Regions from separate parts of the Homo sapiens genome. Here region 2 is linked to region 1. The links are contacts of gene promoters, found by promoter capture Hi-C in blood cells and fetal thymus (Javierre and others, 2016). All regions are on one chromosome and are shown on one strand. Each heading gives the region's core, a stretch centred on a gene start or on the middle of the fragment in contact. The rest is flanking DNA. Distances are from core to core; before and after follow the strand shown. Region 1 holds the start of PHACTR3-AS1 (PHACTR3 antisense RNA 1). Region 2 overlaps PHACTR3 (phosphatase and actin regulator 3).

Region 1 (6,480 bases), core at 3,497-5,996:
CTCCTTCCTGCCCCCGTGCACCCCAGGATCAAGGTGGGGGACGGAAGTGCAAAAGCAAGAGCACTGCAGGCCAGTCTTTCTCAGCACCCGGCAACCACCCTCCCGGGAAACACCATGATACTCCACTTTGAAGCAGCTTCAAGAGCTTTCAGTGAGGCAGAATCCCCAAAGAGTGATGGGAAGATCTCCCTGGGACTGGGCATGCACTTAAAGCAGGTGAGGGAGAGTGATGTGAGGGGAAGTAGGTGGGCATTTGCATTCCAGCCTGGGCACTTTCATGAGCCCTGTGATCTGGGCAAAGCCATTTCCTTCCTCTAAGTCCCTGTAATAATCAGAAATGGCAGAAGCCCAATCAAAGCTGCTGAAGCCTGAAAGGGAGGAAGTGTTTAACTGAGAAGCCCGGGGGTGCGCCAGCTTCACACACGCTGGATCCAGGGATGCAAATAATGCCATCGGGAAATCAACCTTCAAAATTGTCTTTGCTCAGCTTTCCTTTGGGCTAGTTCCATTCTCAGGCTCCAGCTGGGTTGGGGAAAATGGCCACCAGCACTCCAAGCCCACAGCCGACCAGCTCTGTGACTTCTTGTGGAGGGAAAACAACTCTTTCCAAGCGCTTCAACTGAAGTCCTAGAACAGATTCTCATTCGTGAAGCCTGAGTCATGAGCCCATCTGAGAACCAATTACCAGGGGCAGAGACTGTGCAGGATGATGGTCAATTCCACGTGGACAGAGACGGAGGAGGTGCACCTTTTCCCAGCCAGACGCAAGGGGACTGAGGAACAGGAGTGGGCTACTAGGACCTCCCCTAGCTTTGGTGCTCAACCCCAGCACATCCCAGGATGTGAGCATCTCAGGAACCTGGAGCAGTGGTAGAACACAGTCAGCACTGCCATGGCTCATCATGGCCTATGAAGGGCATGTGGTAGCATTAGACGAGAGGCCGCCAGCCACAGCCCAGATGATACAGTCCCCACACGTCCCGTACACCACAAGGTGAGGACGATAGGGAGGCAGGTTCAGAAGCAGGGACACTCCAGGTCAGTGTTTGCTCAGGCCCTGGCAACCTCTCTCCTGGGAAAGGACAGAGGCTACCACAGGCCGGGGCCAGATGCCACTCTACAGGGGCTTCTGGGAACACAGACCTCAGCTCTGAGGACCACAGGCATTCCCGTTCATACAGCCGCAGCCCCCAAGCCTCAGCCCAGTCATCCATGCCAGCCTGGGGTGATGTTTCCCAAGTCCTTTGAAAAATGAGGACAATGCAGTGAGGTGTTTTGGGGGCTGGCTCTGTGTCCTTGAAAAGACTGTCTTCTGTTGGAGTATATGGCCTTCCTGACTCTTTGGATTTGAAATTCCATTTCTTTTGGGAAATACTGGTGTTAATAGTGTTATTATTATACTGTTGTGAAACCAAGGATGTTCGGGTTTTTCTTCATTGTTGTTTTTAAACATCCCTAGTTGACCAAAATATAAAAGTTGGCAACTCCTGCCCACCCCTCCTGCCTCTGTCAAGGCCCCTGTAAACTGGACCAAGACAAAGTCCTACCTCTCTCCTCCCTCCATAGCTACCCAAAAACTGTCACTGCAAACAAACCTCCCTCCCCTGTCCCTGCAGAAAGGCAGGCACTAAGTGTTTGCTGTTGCTGGGGGCTAGGGGACAGAAGAGCGGGGCATCTGAGGAGCAGCATCCCCCAGGAGCTCATTAAAAATGCAGAGTTTCAGGCCCTACCCAAGCGTCAGAATCCACATTTTAACCAGACTCCCAGTGACATGTATGCACATAGAAGTTTCAGAGGCACCGGACCAGACTTTATCCAAGGACCTTGCCTTGATAATTATGGCAACCAAGGGCCCCTAAGATGGGCATCTGACCCTGACTTTTAGCCTCTGGGCATTCTTCCCTGAGCATGGCTTCTCTCCCAGTATGGGAGGTCTATGCCTCTTTCAGCCCTGCTCAACGCACACTTTAACTTCCATTCCACAATGACAGCTAACAGCCATGAAGCTAGCTCCACATGCCAGCATCCCTGGTGGTGGTCACTTCAACTCCAGAAACCCCACAGACCCACCCCTTCTTCATGAACGTTTTACCAAATCCCTCCAACCACCCCTGTCTACCCATCAGGTGTAACTTTCCTCCTCGAATCCCCTAGAACACCGAGAATCCTAGAGCTTCCTTGATAAGCCTAAGAACCCTCTGCCCCTGAGTCAACATTTCTCATGTCCCCCTCCCCACTTCGACAGTACAAGCTCCTTGAGGGTGGCCGGGACTGGACCCTGCCTCTGTGAAGGGACCCCCACCCAGTGGCACTTCCTCTAGATGGTGCCAGGTAACCGCCCACCCCAGTGGTACTTCCTCTAGATGGTGCTGGGTAACTGCACCACCCGGTGTCTCCCCAACTTCACTCACACGTCACCACTCTTATGGATGTTGCTCTAATAGAACCACTTGGTCTAAAATGAATATAATGTTTTCTTAAGAAAGTTTAAAATGAAAACTTGACGTCTACTTTAATGGAAATGCAATATTTTTCTAATGAAAAATTAAACAGGCTGGGAACGGTGGCTCAAGCCTGTAATCCCAGCACTTTGGGAGGCCTAGGCGGGCGGATCACCTGAGGTTAGGAGTTTAAGACCAGCCTAGCCAACAGGGTGAAACCCTGTCTCTACTAAAAATATAAAAATTAGCCAGGTGTGGTGGTGGGCACCTGTAATCCCAGCTACTCGGGAGGCTGAGGCAGGAGAATCACTTGAACCTGGGAGGCAGAGGTTGCAGTGAGCCAAGACCATACCACTGCACTCCAGCCTGGGGGACAGAGTGAGACTCCATCTCAAAAAAAAGAAAAAAGAAAAATTAAACAGACATATACCTGATATGAACGTTCTTTATAAAATTAATAGTTCATTTACCACCTAAAATCATCTCACACATTGCCAGGAAATCAGTGTCATGATTGACACTAATCAGTTGACTGGAAAGTGGCAACCACCAGGACACACTTGCCCGTGGGCTGGGCTTTAGGACCTGGCCCTATATTCATGCATTCTGCAGGAAAGTTTCTTCTTTCCTTTGGCTGCATGGAACCCCCTTGGCTGCCTAGAACCCCTGGTCTACAGCCACACCCACGGGTGTCATTTAATGCCATCACGGGGAGTTGGGTGCTTCCTTCTAGTGACTTGCCATCAGTCAGTGGGAAGACGGAAGGCCACAGTGGCTGTCTTGACAAGCACGACACTCATTCGGTGCCACCCACTGCAACTGTATTGAGGACAATTGTGAGATTAAGAGAATTTTATTTCATGAGCACTAAGCTCCAATTCCAGAGAGGCAACCGTGTTTATTCCGCTCCATTGTCTGATAAGGAGCAGAAGATGGAAGCCTCCAGATCTTCTGGGGACAGGCATGGAGCTCATACCCTGGAAGGGCAGGATGATCATGTGAAGAGAACCAGGGAGAAGGCGGCCACTCACAGCCACAGAGAGAGTCCTGGGACGGGTCCTGCCCTCACAGCCCTCAGAAGGAACCCGCCCTGCTGGCACCTTGATCTCAGACCTCCAGCCTCCAGCACTGCGAGAGAGTAGGTTTCTGCTGTGGAATCCCCCAGTCTGCAGCACATGCTAGGGCAGCCACAGGAGATGAGCTCAGCCAGAACAGCGGAGGGAGAAGGGGAAGGCTGGGCCTTCTCAGGCAGCCAGGGCCTTCCTGGGAAGAAGGGAGGTGGGGTAAAGGCTTGAGCCTCCACAGGCACCAGAGAAGCAGAGGCCTGGGGGCCAGGAGGAGGCTGCCCCTGCCACTGGAGCATGGTGGGGGCACAACGTAGAGAAAAGGAAGCAGGTGGGCATCCAGTCAGCATCCACACACGTCGCCCATGCCACTTCAGGAGCCAAGGGGCCTGGCGCCTCATTATTTAAAAGTCAAGTCTCACCTGGTTGTCGTGAAGCTATAGGTGTGATAAAATTTCATTCAATTATTCACTGAAAAAACAGCAAAAGTGCTTGCAAAACCTGGTGGAATTCGCTAAGGCCTCTGGTTTAGTTGGTTTAGTTAACCTCACTGTACCAATGTCCACCTCCTGGTGCCAACCAGTGAACCATGGAAAGGTGGATGCTGTCATTGAGGGAAGCTCTGCAACCCCCACGTGAGTCTAAAATTATTTCAAAAAAGTTTAGAAAGTGTGAACAATTGTATTAAAAACAAACAAAAAACAAGATCTAACCTCCGTGGCTCTTCCCAGCGCAGGGCTGTGGCTTCTCAGTCCTCTTCCCAGCCTTCCAGGGTCCCACAAATCCATCCTTCTCTGGCCCACCTAGTAGGTACTATGGGGAATCTTCCAGAGCACAGGCAACAGGGGAGGTCTTGAGACCAACCAGGAGTCAGGAGAATGAACTGATCCTCTCCCGTACTTTTTGTTTCTTTGTGTTTTTGTGAATTTTGTCAAACAGAACTCGGGGAGAGAACAGGGCTCGCCTCTCTCCCTGGGAGCCAGGAGCCAGAAATGCCTGCACGTGGCCCCATGCACGGCTGCACTCCGAGGGCCAAAGCCTCCATTCACGTGCAGGCTGCGGGGACAGTGCAGTGCTTGCTCTCTGTGAAATGCCCGATTTCAGCCTGCAGCCATCGCTAGCTTGCACAGCATCCCTGGCCTGCCTCAATGGCAACCCTTGTCCCCGAGAAGCACAAAGCCGCCTCTGCTCGGGAGCCAGGGCTGCAGCTGGGGGGCGTCTCCACCCCATGACTGGGCCCATTCTTCCCCAGCACACAGGCGACCCTGCCAGGGAACACGCATGGCTCGGAGCTCCCAAGTACTCTCTCCTGGCAAGTGAGGAGTGTAAATAAATCTTGGGAGGAGGACATGAGAGAGAAACACAGTCCCTGGAGGACAGCATTCTGGAGTGGCCACATGAGTTGGAAACTTCCATGCCGAAGCCTTAAGAGGTTGGTGAGTTTCCTGTCACTGAAGGCATTTGAGCAGGGACGAGAATTTTCCTGGGCAGGGATGGGCTAAGGAGGGGGCAGAAGGAAGCAAGCACTGCCTGGATAGATGGATGGATGGATGGACAGAGAGAGAGACGATAGATACACAGATTGATAGATAATGGTAGATGATCGATTAGCAGATGGATGACAGATTATAGATATATTGAAAAATAGATTATAGATATATTGATACATAAATAAAAATAGATAAATGATTGATGACTAGATGCTAGAATATACATATATTTATAGATGATAGATATATTGAGAGATAAATAAAAAAGAGAGATAAATGATAAATAGATGGATGATAGATACATACATAGATACACAGACGCTTCCTAAGCAGGAGGGCACAACTGAATCACAGATGCAGGTGGGCACCTGACCTAATCAGTGTTGTCCAGTCCCAGATATCTCTATCCAACCACACACCTCTCCCTAACTCCAGGTACAATTTCCACCTGGGGATCTGATAGGTCTCTCAAACAGAACCTGTCCACAGCTGAACAGAGCATTGATTTGCCCAACCCCCATCCTGCTCATCTCAATGGTTCCTCCCCATTGCCGCCAGAACCTCTCCATCCTTCCAGCTGCTCAGGCTGGAACGCTTGGAGTCATCCAGGACTCTTCTGTCTCATCCCAGCCATCTGATCCCTCTCACACCACATCTAGCTCTACCACCATCTTAATTGGATTCTCCTAAAAGCAGAGCTGCAGGCGGGCTTAGGTGAAGGTAGCTTATTTGGGAGGTATCTCAGGAAGCAGAAGCAAGGGAGCAATGAGAGTGAGGGAGGGAGGAAGGGCAAACCCACACACGTGCATTTCCAGGGTCACAGCTGTAGGCAGCAAGGTTGCATTCTCTGAAAGCTCCAAGAAGCACCCACCTAAAGGATGCATGCCTGGGATGTTTACTCCCATTTCGTCAGCTGAGGATTGTCCTTCAGACATTAGCTCCCCTCATGTCCTGGCTGCACTTTGATGCTTGGGAGAATATCCACAGCACTGGGCTCATGGCTGTGCTGTGCTGGAAAGTGTTTGGGTGGTATAAGGGAGCTGATATGTACATTTGCCAATTGCCATGGTGTAAATACTTCCCACTGCAGCCAGCTTGCAGCATTCCTGAAAGTGTAGCCACCTGCTCCAATACAGCGCTCATCACCCAACATGCTGGTTGATTGAAGCCACAGCTGAAGACCAAGGCAGAGCTGGTCCAAGGAATTGTGATGCAGGCACAAAGAACATCTGCTGTGAACAACCTGCTCCAAACCACCAGCATCTCTGACTAAATGACCTTCGAATCCTCCAGCACAATCTCATCTCACTCTGCAGCCATTCAAATCTTCAACGGGCAGCTCTGAAAATAAAGCCCAAGTCTTCCCCCAGGCCTCGGCACCTCCCTGGGATCCTCCCCTGGCCACCTCTTGGCATTGTGGGCATCAAAAACTTGCCCCTTTCCATCACTCACTCAGCCTCACTGGTCTCCTTGTTCCTACCACAC
Region 2 (6,556 bases), core at 610-3,109, 120 kb before region 1:
ATCAATTTAGGAGTGCATTTTCCCTCTCAAGGAAAGAGACTGTGTTTCAGGCCACTCTAGTCCCTGGTCCACAATCATTTAGCAAGAGAGAGAGTATGGAAGGTAGAGATGAGCAAACCACAATGTGGGGACCAATCCAGCTCCCCCACCTGGATTTGACATCTTTAAATGGTTGACAAAAGAAAAAAAAATCAAAAGAAAAATAATAGTTTGTGGCACATGAAAATTATATAAAATTCAAAGGCCAGTGGCCATAAATAAAGTTTTCTTGGGACACAGCCATGCCCTCTCATGCATGTTTTGTCTCCGGCTGCCTTTGCGCTACAAAAGCAGAGACAAGTAGTTGCAACAGAGACTGCACGTCCCCCTGAAATATGCACTATCTGACCCTCTCCAGAAAAGGTTTGCCGACCCTGATCTAAAGTGATTCTGTAAGCCTGCGGGTGTGTGATGTCGCCGTCAGAGGCACGGAAGCCAGAGACCAGGCTCCCACGGCAGCAGGGTGAGAGCCACACTGTCAGCCTGGCCGCGGCCAAGCATTCGTCTCCAGCCTCTGCTATGACTTCATCAGACAAAGTCATCTTGCAAAAATTCAGAGTGGAAAAAAGCCAACGCTCCTAGAAGTTTTCCCCTTTAATTAGTCAAACTATAGCTTCATTTTTGAGAGGAACCAAATCTATATACTTACTCTTTACTCAACAAAAGTAGTGTTTTTTTTAGAATAGATGAGAAAAGGCCTTAGCATTGTTTTCATCTTCCTTTCTCCTTCCCTAAGATCCAAAGGTATGCTTGTTGGCAACATATTCAAAATGCCGGAGTTTGACACTTTTTTGTCCCATCCCAGTGAAAATCCTCCAGATTTCTAGCTCAGCAACCGCATTCCGCCAAATCCGAGCGTCACGACGGCGTTAACCATCTGAGTGCCACGGGACTTGACACCAAGCTTTCCTCGCACATGTAAGGTTTTATTATCACTATGAAGCAATTTCCCATGTAGATTTCCCCTAAAAATAGCATCATCAAAATACTTCACTCTTCGAGTCTAAAGAGAGGAAACAATGACAAAAGCCTGGGCCCACAATCGGGTTTGTGTGCTGACAGGCCCGGCTGCATAAAATCTGGATTCGTTTATTTCATGAGCTTCCTTCCTAATTCCTGATATTTGGGCCAAATTACAAAGACACTAGTAATATTTTAAGGCTGAAGTGGGGAGAGAGGAATTCAATATATCCATGCAAGCCTCAGGAAACTGGCTATGCATGGCCAGATTCCTCAAATCAGCAGGCCAGAGCTTGGTCCAGCTCCAGAGAGTCTTCCAGAGGCAGTGAGGTGTTGTGAAACCTCCTAACCAAGATTTAGCCTCTCAGGGAACCGGAAGGCACCAAGGGCTAGTGTCAGCATCTAAGTCCTGGGCCTCACACCTCCAGGAATCCATCACAAAGAGAAAGACTTGGGAATTAAAGAACTCTGTTCAGTTAATTGCATGAGTGATAATAACTGGCCTTTCTGAAAGATGGAAACAAAGATGATTATGTAGACCCCACTGAGATTAAGCTCTCTAGACCAGAGACCAAGAGATCAGGATTTGTTCTGTGTCTCTGCTCTCAGGCTGCAATGACTTGGGGCAGTCACCACCCAGACCCTCCCACGCCTCGTCTGCAAGTGGGATAGCCGCTGCCTCTCTCCCCAGGGATGCTGGGAAGACCAATGAGACAGGGCGTGCACAATATCCCACCCCGCCCCAGCATGTCCTGAATGCTTCCTACATGGTGGTAGGGGGAGTAGGTAATAGTGGAATTAAAAATAATTTGCCCAAATGGAGGACTGAAATGTGAATATGAAAAAAAAATTAATGCTGAAAAAACCACTGCTACCACTTTAAAGGAATTGGGATAAACCACCAGATTCATGCACACCCAGCTCTGTTAGACATTCCCCAGAGAGGAGTGGTGCCATGAGGGGGAGCTCTTCAGCTCAGTAATGGGGTCTCCCGTGCCCCTGGGGGCTGGACCAATGGAATGGCTCCTGACATGGGGTGTCTCTCCAACCTTGCAGGCTTCATCTGAACACGGCCCTCCTTGGATTCTACACTGTTTCTGATGGGCTTCCTGGGCTCATGTGAGACTTTCCATTCTGCATTCCCAGCACCGTGCCCTTCCAAGCCAGGGACGGGTCCCACTTACCCTGCTCCATCATCTCCAGCAGCCCCTTCTTGATGAGCTCCTCTCGGCCTTGCCTGCCGGCCATCTTCTTCTCCAGCGCTGCCCAACACACAAACACACAGGTGAGTCTCAGGCAAAGGTGTCACTGGGCCCTGTCCAAGCCACAGCCAATGCCAGGCTCAAGTTTACAGACCAAAAACACTGAGCTAGCAGGCGCCTCGGGGTTAGGGGGCCTAGTCCACTGGCGAGGCCCAACTTTCTTACCAAGAGTGCTGCTAAGCAATGTGCATAAACCACAGCTAAAGAGCAGTGCACGCAGTAGATATTCTACAGCGATCATTTCTGTGATTTATCTGGAAAGCCCCTGCACATATAACGCCCCTCTCTAAGCTAGCTCTCACCAGCCATTCCTGCCCTTCACCAAATGTTCCCTAAATTACCAACCAAGGAAAGTGCCCTCCCTCTGCCGCCAACACCCCGGGCTCCTTTCCGTGGTTCCTGTTCGCCTTTGCGAAGTGCCTCCTGGCCGCTCTTAACATCCACTCACAGATGAGATTCTCCTGTGCGGCTCTCCCACTAGAGCTTCTTCCAATAAACCCAGGTTAAAAGCTTCCAGTCTACCAGATGGACAGGAAGGGAGGAGGCCAGCCCCCAGTCCCCTTCCACCAAGCCTAATTTGCCAAATCTTTGTCAATTCCGCCTTCAGAATAGCCCTTTCTGCCTCCCCTTCCCGGAGCAAAACACTCTTGAGCGACGGCCACCACCTTGTCCCATTCTCCCTTCTTTCACAGGCAGGCCTCGGGCTGCTCCACAATCATCTTCTTCCTTCCGTCAGGAAAACTGTTTGCCTACAGGTGAGCCCCAATTTCCAAATACAAGACTACATAACCACCTCAACCCTTTCTTTGAAAGATGCAGCTTTGCAAGGGCTGTTTCCACTGCTGTGATGATTTCCCCGCCTTTCCCAATGAACCAATTACATCTCAGCTCAATGCAGCCTCCTCACCTGGGTCTTCTCCGACCACTGGGCCCAAAGCAGTGCCCGCCCTGCTCATTTCCACCCCAGGGCCTGCTCCGTGATCCTGCCATTAACCCTGGATCACAGAGAGTCCATCAGTGTTCTGTGTGTGCAGGGGGCCCTGCCAGCTGCCGGGGAACAGACAGAGTCAGCCCACCTGGCTTAGCTTAATGTCTAGTTGGGGAGGCAGATGACAAACAGGCACTGGCAATGGAATTATTTCACTTACTCAAAAGCATTTCCTGAGCACCTGCTATGTGCCAAGTGCTGAGCTGGGTGCTGGGGAGTCACGGAGGGCAGAAGCCCTGCAGCCTTCACAGGTGGGGCTCCACTGGGGGAACAGGCCATGGTGATCAGGTGTTCAATCTATGGAAACCCCTTACACATTTACTGAGCACCTACTGTGTGCCAGGCACCATGTCAGGCACAGGAGATTCTGCCATGAGCAAGACAGGCACAGCCTCTGCCTGATGCCAGCACAGGTGGGAGGACAGATGGCAAGTGTCTAGAAGTGGGCGAGGAGGAATAAGTCAGGCCTGGGGCGGGGGACTGACTGGGGGGCAGTTGTCTGGGGAAACCCATCCCATCCTTGACCTCCCGGGTGGCTTCCCTGAGGATATTTACCCTAAAGCCAAAGGATGAAAAGGGAAACCCAAACACAGCAGGGTGGGGACATTTTTGGGCAGAGAAAACAGAATTTCCTTTCTGTGGTCCCAATTTCCAAGCCAATTTCCAGGTGCCAGAATTGTGGATAAAATTGACAAAGTGAATGCTGACCTTGGGAGGTGTCAGCAAAGAGGCTGCAGCCAGGCTCACAAAGCAGATAAGAAGAACAGGGGTGGAGGCCTCGAGCTCTGTGTGGACCCCGTCCCCAGGCCGGCACCAGGCGGTGCTCATGGTGGCTAGCCTCAGACATCACAGGTCTTTGCCTGCACTGACTCAAGGACTTCCCGATGACCCAAAGATGCAGCTGCGAGGCTCTACCCTCCCCCTCTCGGGGATGGGGACGTCAGTGGTGGTGCAGCTTGTGAAGGTGGTACAGTGTGTAAATGGCTGAGTGGATCTGAGCCACCTGCCAGGGCAGGCATGGACTGAGATGCTGGTCCACCCTGCAGCCCCTGAGAGCCATCTTCAGCCGGTTCCCCCAGCCTCGCCTACCAAAACCACTGTTTGCTACATATTTCTCTTTCAATCATCTTTGCATTCACTTCAACTCATCCTAACCCGTGATGCCCGTGAAATCAGGAATTTGATATGCTGAAACAAATAACACCCCCTGCTTTAAAGGAAAATAGTGGTTTGGAATAAGTAAACAAAATGCAGCACTGTTCCTCGAATTTCCAGATGCCCGAATGGCGGTCCTGAAGGTGGGGATGCTGCAGGTAAAAACCTCGAGACCTCCAATGCCCTTGCAGGGTCCCCAGAGCATCTTGCTGGTGAACTCACACGGCACAGCTTGGAGTAGGCCAAAGAGCCCAGAGTCCTCAGAAGACAAACCTCAGCCTTCCAGTTCCACTGCTGGGGTCAGCAGGCCTGGAGAATGTCAGAGACCCCCCTGAGGTCACGGAGGTCACTCTGCTCTAGTCCCCCGGCCTTTCACTGCTGCACAGACGTGCCTTCCCCAGCTCGCTGCCTTTTCGAGGGCTGTTCCCACTGCTGCCATGCTCTTCCCTGCCTTTCTCAATGAACCAATTACATCTCAGCTCAATGCAGCCTCCTCACCTGGGTCTTCTCGGACCACTGGGCCCAAAGCAGTGCCCGCCCTGCTCATTTCCACCCCCCAGGGCCTGCTCCGTGATCCTGCCATTAAGCCTGGATCACTAAGAGCCCATTAGTGCCGTGTGTGTGCAAGGGGCCCTGCCAGATGCAGGGGAACAAATGGAACCCGCCCACCTAGCTGAGCCTAGCATCCAGTGAGGGAGGCTGCCTTGCAGCCTCGCCGGAGTCTGCAATCGACTCACGTGCTGGTTCACTTGGTGGCTTCCACACTTTGTCACTCGACTCCCTACTCTGCGGAAAGCTCTGGGTGGGCAGGGCCTGGGCCCCTCCTGTTGGTACTGGGCACACAGGAGGTGCTCAAGATCTGCCGAATGATGATGCTTGTTCTGTTTCCACTTCAACAAGAATTCATCTATCAACTTCTTGGTTGGTAAAAATAATAATAATAATTTTGTAAAGCACACAGAAAAGCATGAGTGGAGGGCCTGCTGTCGGTGTTGGCCGCCTCCCCTGCTGTGGGCCTGGGCGCTGTAACACCTGGCCTTCGTCTCCACCATCCTCAAAGCCCTGGAGCCTGCGCCTCTTCAGAGCTGGAAAGGAAATGGGACCCCAGGGACCCCCCGAGGCAACAGCCTGAGACGGGCACTCGCCAGGGCTGGTTCCTGAGGCCTGGGACTGATTCCACAGCAGCAGCTCCCTCACTAATTGTTTTTAGGTGTGGCTCACAGGCATGTGGCTGGAGGCGGGGCCCTGGGGTGGAGATGCGGCCTCCTCCGGGCTCTCTTCTCAGAACACTGCCATCTGCAGAGCCCAGGCTGACGAGCCACCACACCCGGCTGCCAGGGTCCAAGCCTCAGCCCCGCCACCTGCTGGCTGTGTGACCCTGGGTGAGTGATTTCCCTTTCTGGGCCTGTTCCCCATCCCTTCCGATGGGGCAGGATCCTGCGGGAGTGCTGGCCTAGCAGGAGGTTCTGAGGGTTGAGTTGGCTCCTCCATGCCAAATGCTGGGGGGCCGTGTTCTGCCGTTATGTGCCTTACGGCTGCTTGTCCCGTCATCACTGCCTGTGTCCACCCTGTCTGTGGTTCAGCCTCATGGCTGCAGTTCCCAAGCTGGATTCCGAGGAGGCGGGGGCAACGGGACCAGCCATCGCAATCCCGCTTCCCACAGAGCCAGGGCTGGCAGGGTGTGAGGGGGCAGCAGGAGGTGAGTGGAGGAACCTTCTGGATGCTTTGGTGGGAGGGTGTAGGGAAGGCACACTGAGACAGCTTAGGAGCAGGGGAGCAGCCTCTGTCTTTCAGGAAGAAGAGAGGCCCAGAGGTGTCAAAGCCAAACCGACGGCCTCAACCCTGAGTCACCCAGGAGGCTCTTGGCCAACTAAACCTGCATCTGTGGGGGTACGACCCAGGCCCCAGCATCCTCCAAGTGAGATTGCAGGTGTGGGAGGTGAGGTGGTGCGGGAGTCGCGTGGGCTGGGGGCTCACCACCCAGGTGAAGCCAGCAAGTGAGACCTTGCTCCAAAGCCAGTGTCTCGGCCCAACCCAGCCCTAAGTAAATCAGAGGCTTCGTTTTTAACAAGGTCCCAGTGGACTTGTGGGCACCTTAGGGTCTGGGCAGAGCGTCCCACATGGGGTGCCTGGTGCCAACTCCACCCCAGGG

What was found. Contacts are between HindIII fragments. The CHiCAGO score rates a contact against its expected background, and 5 or more counts as called.
Region 2: a contact is called between a fragment that was not itself captured here and the fragment with the promoter of PHACTR3-AS1 in region 1, in 1 of 17 cell types (M2 macrophages). The highest score is 5.5, in M2 macrophages.

Annotation. Positions count from the first base shown.
Region 1 is chr20:59,626,555-59,633,034 of GRCh38, reverse strand. It overlaps PHACTR3-AS1 (PHACTR3 antisense RNA 1), which reads left to right and starts at 4,746. Exons shown (of 2, transcript NR_040513.1): 1 at 4,746-4,937; 2 at 6,086-6,480. All of the region lies in intron 1 of PHACTR3 (phosphatase and actin regulator 3), which reads right to left. The HindIII fragment of the contact is 11,450 bases long and covers 1-6,480 here.
Region 2 is chr20:59,743,463-59,750,018 of GRCh38, reverse strand. PHACTR3 (phosphatase and actin regulator 3) reads right to left here. Exons shown (of 13, transcript NM_080672.5): 3 at 2,184-2,261. Among named protein-coding and RNA genes, the nearest start is that of PHACTR3-AS1, 120 kb to the right of the region's middle. RefSeq lists an enhancer at 5,760-5,829. The HindIII fragment of the contact is 1,828 bases long and covers 946-2,773 here.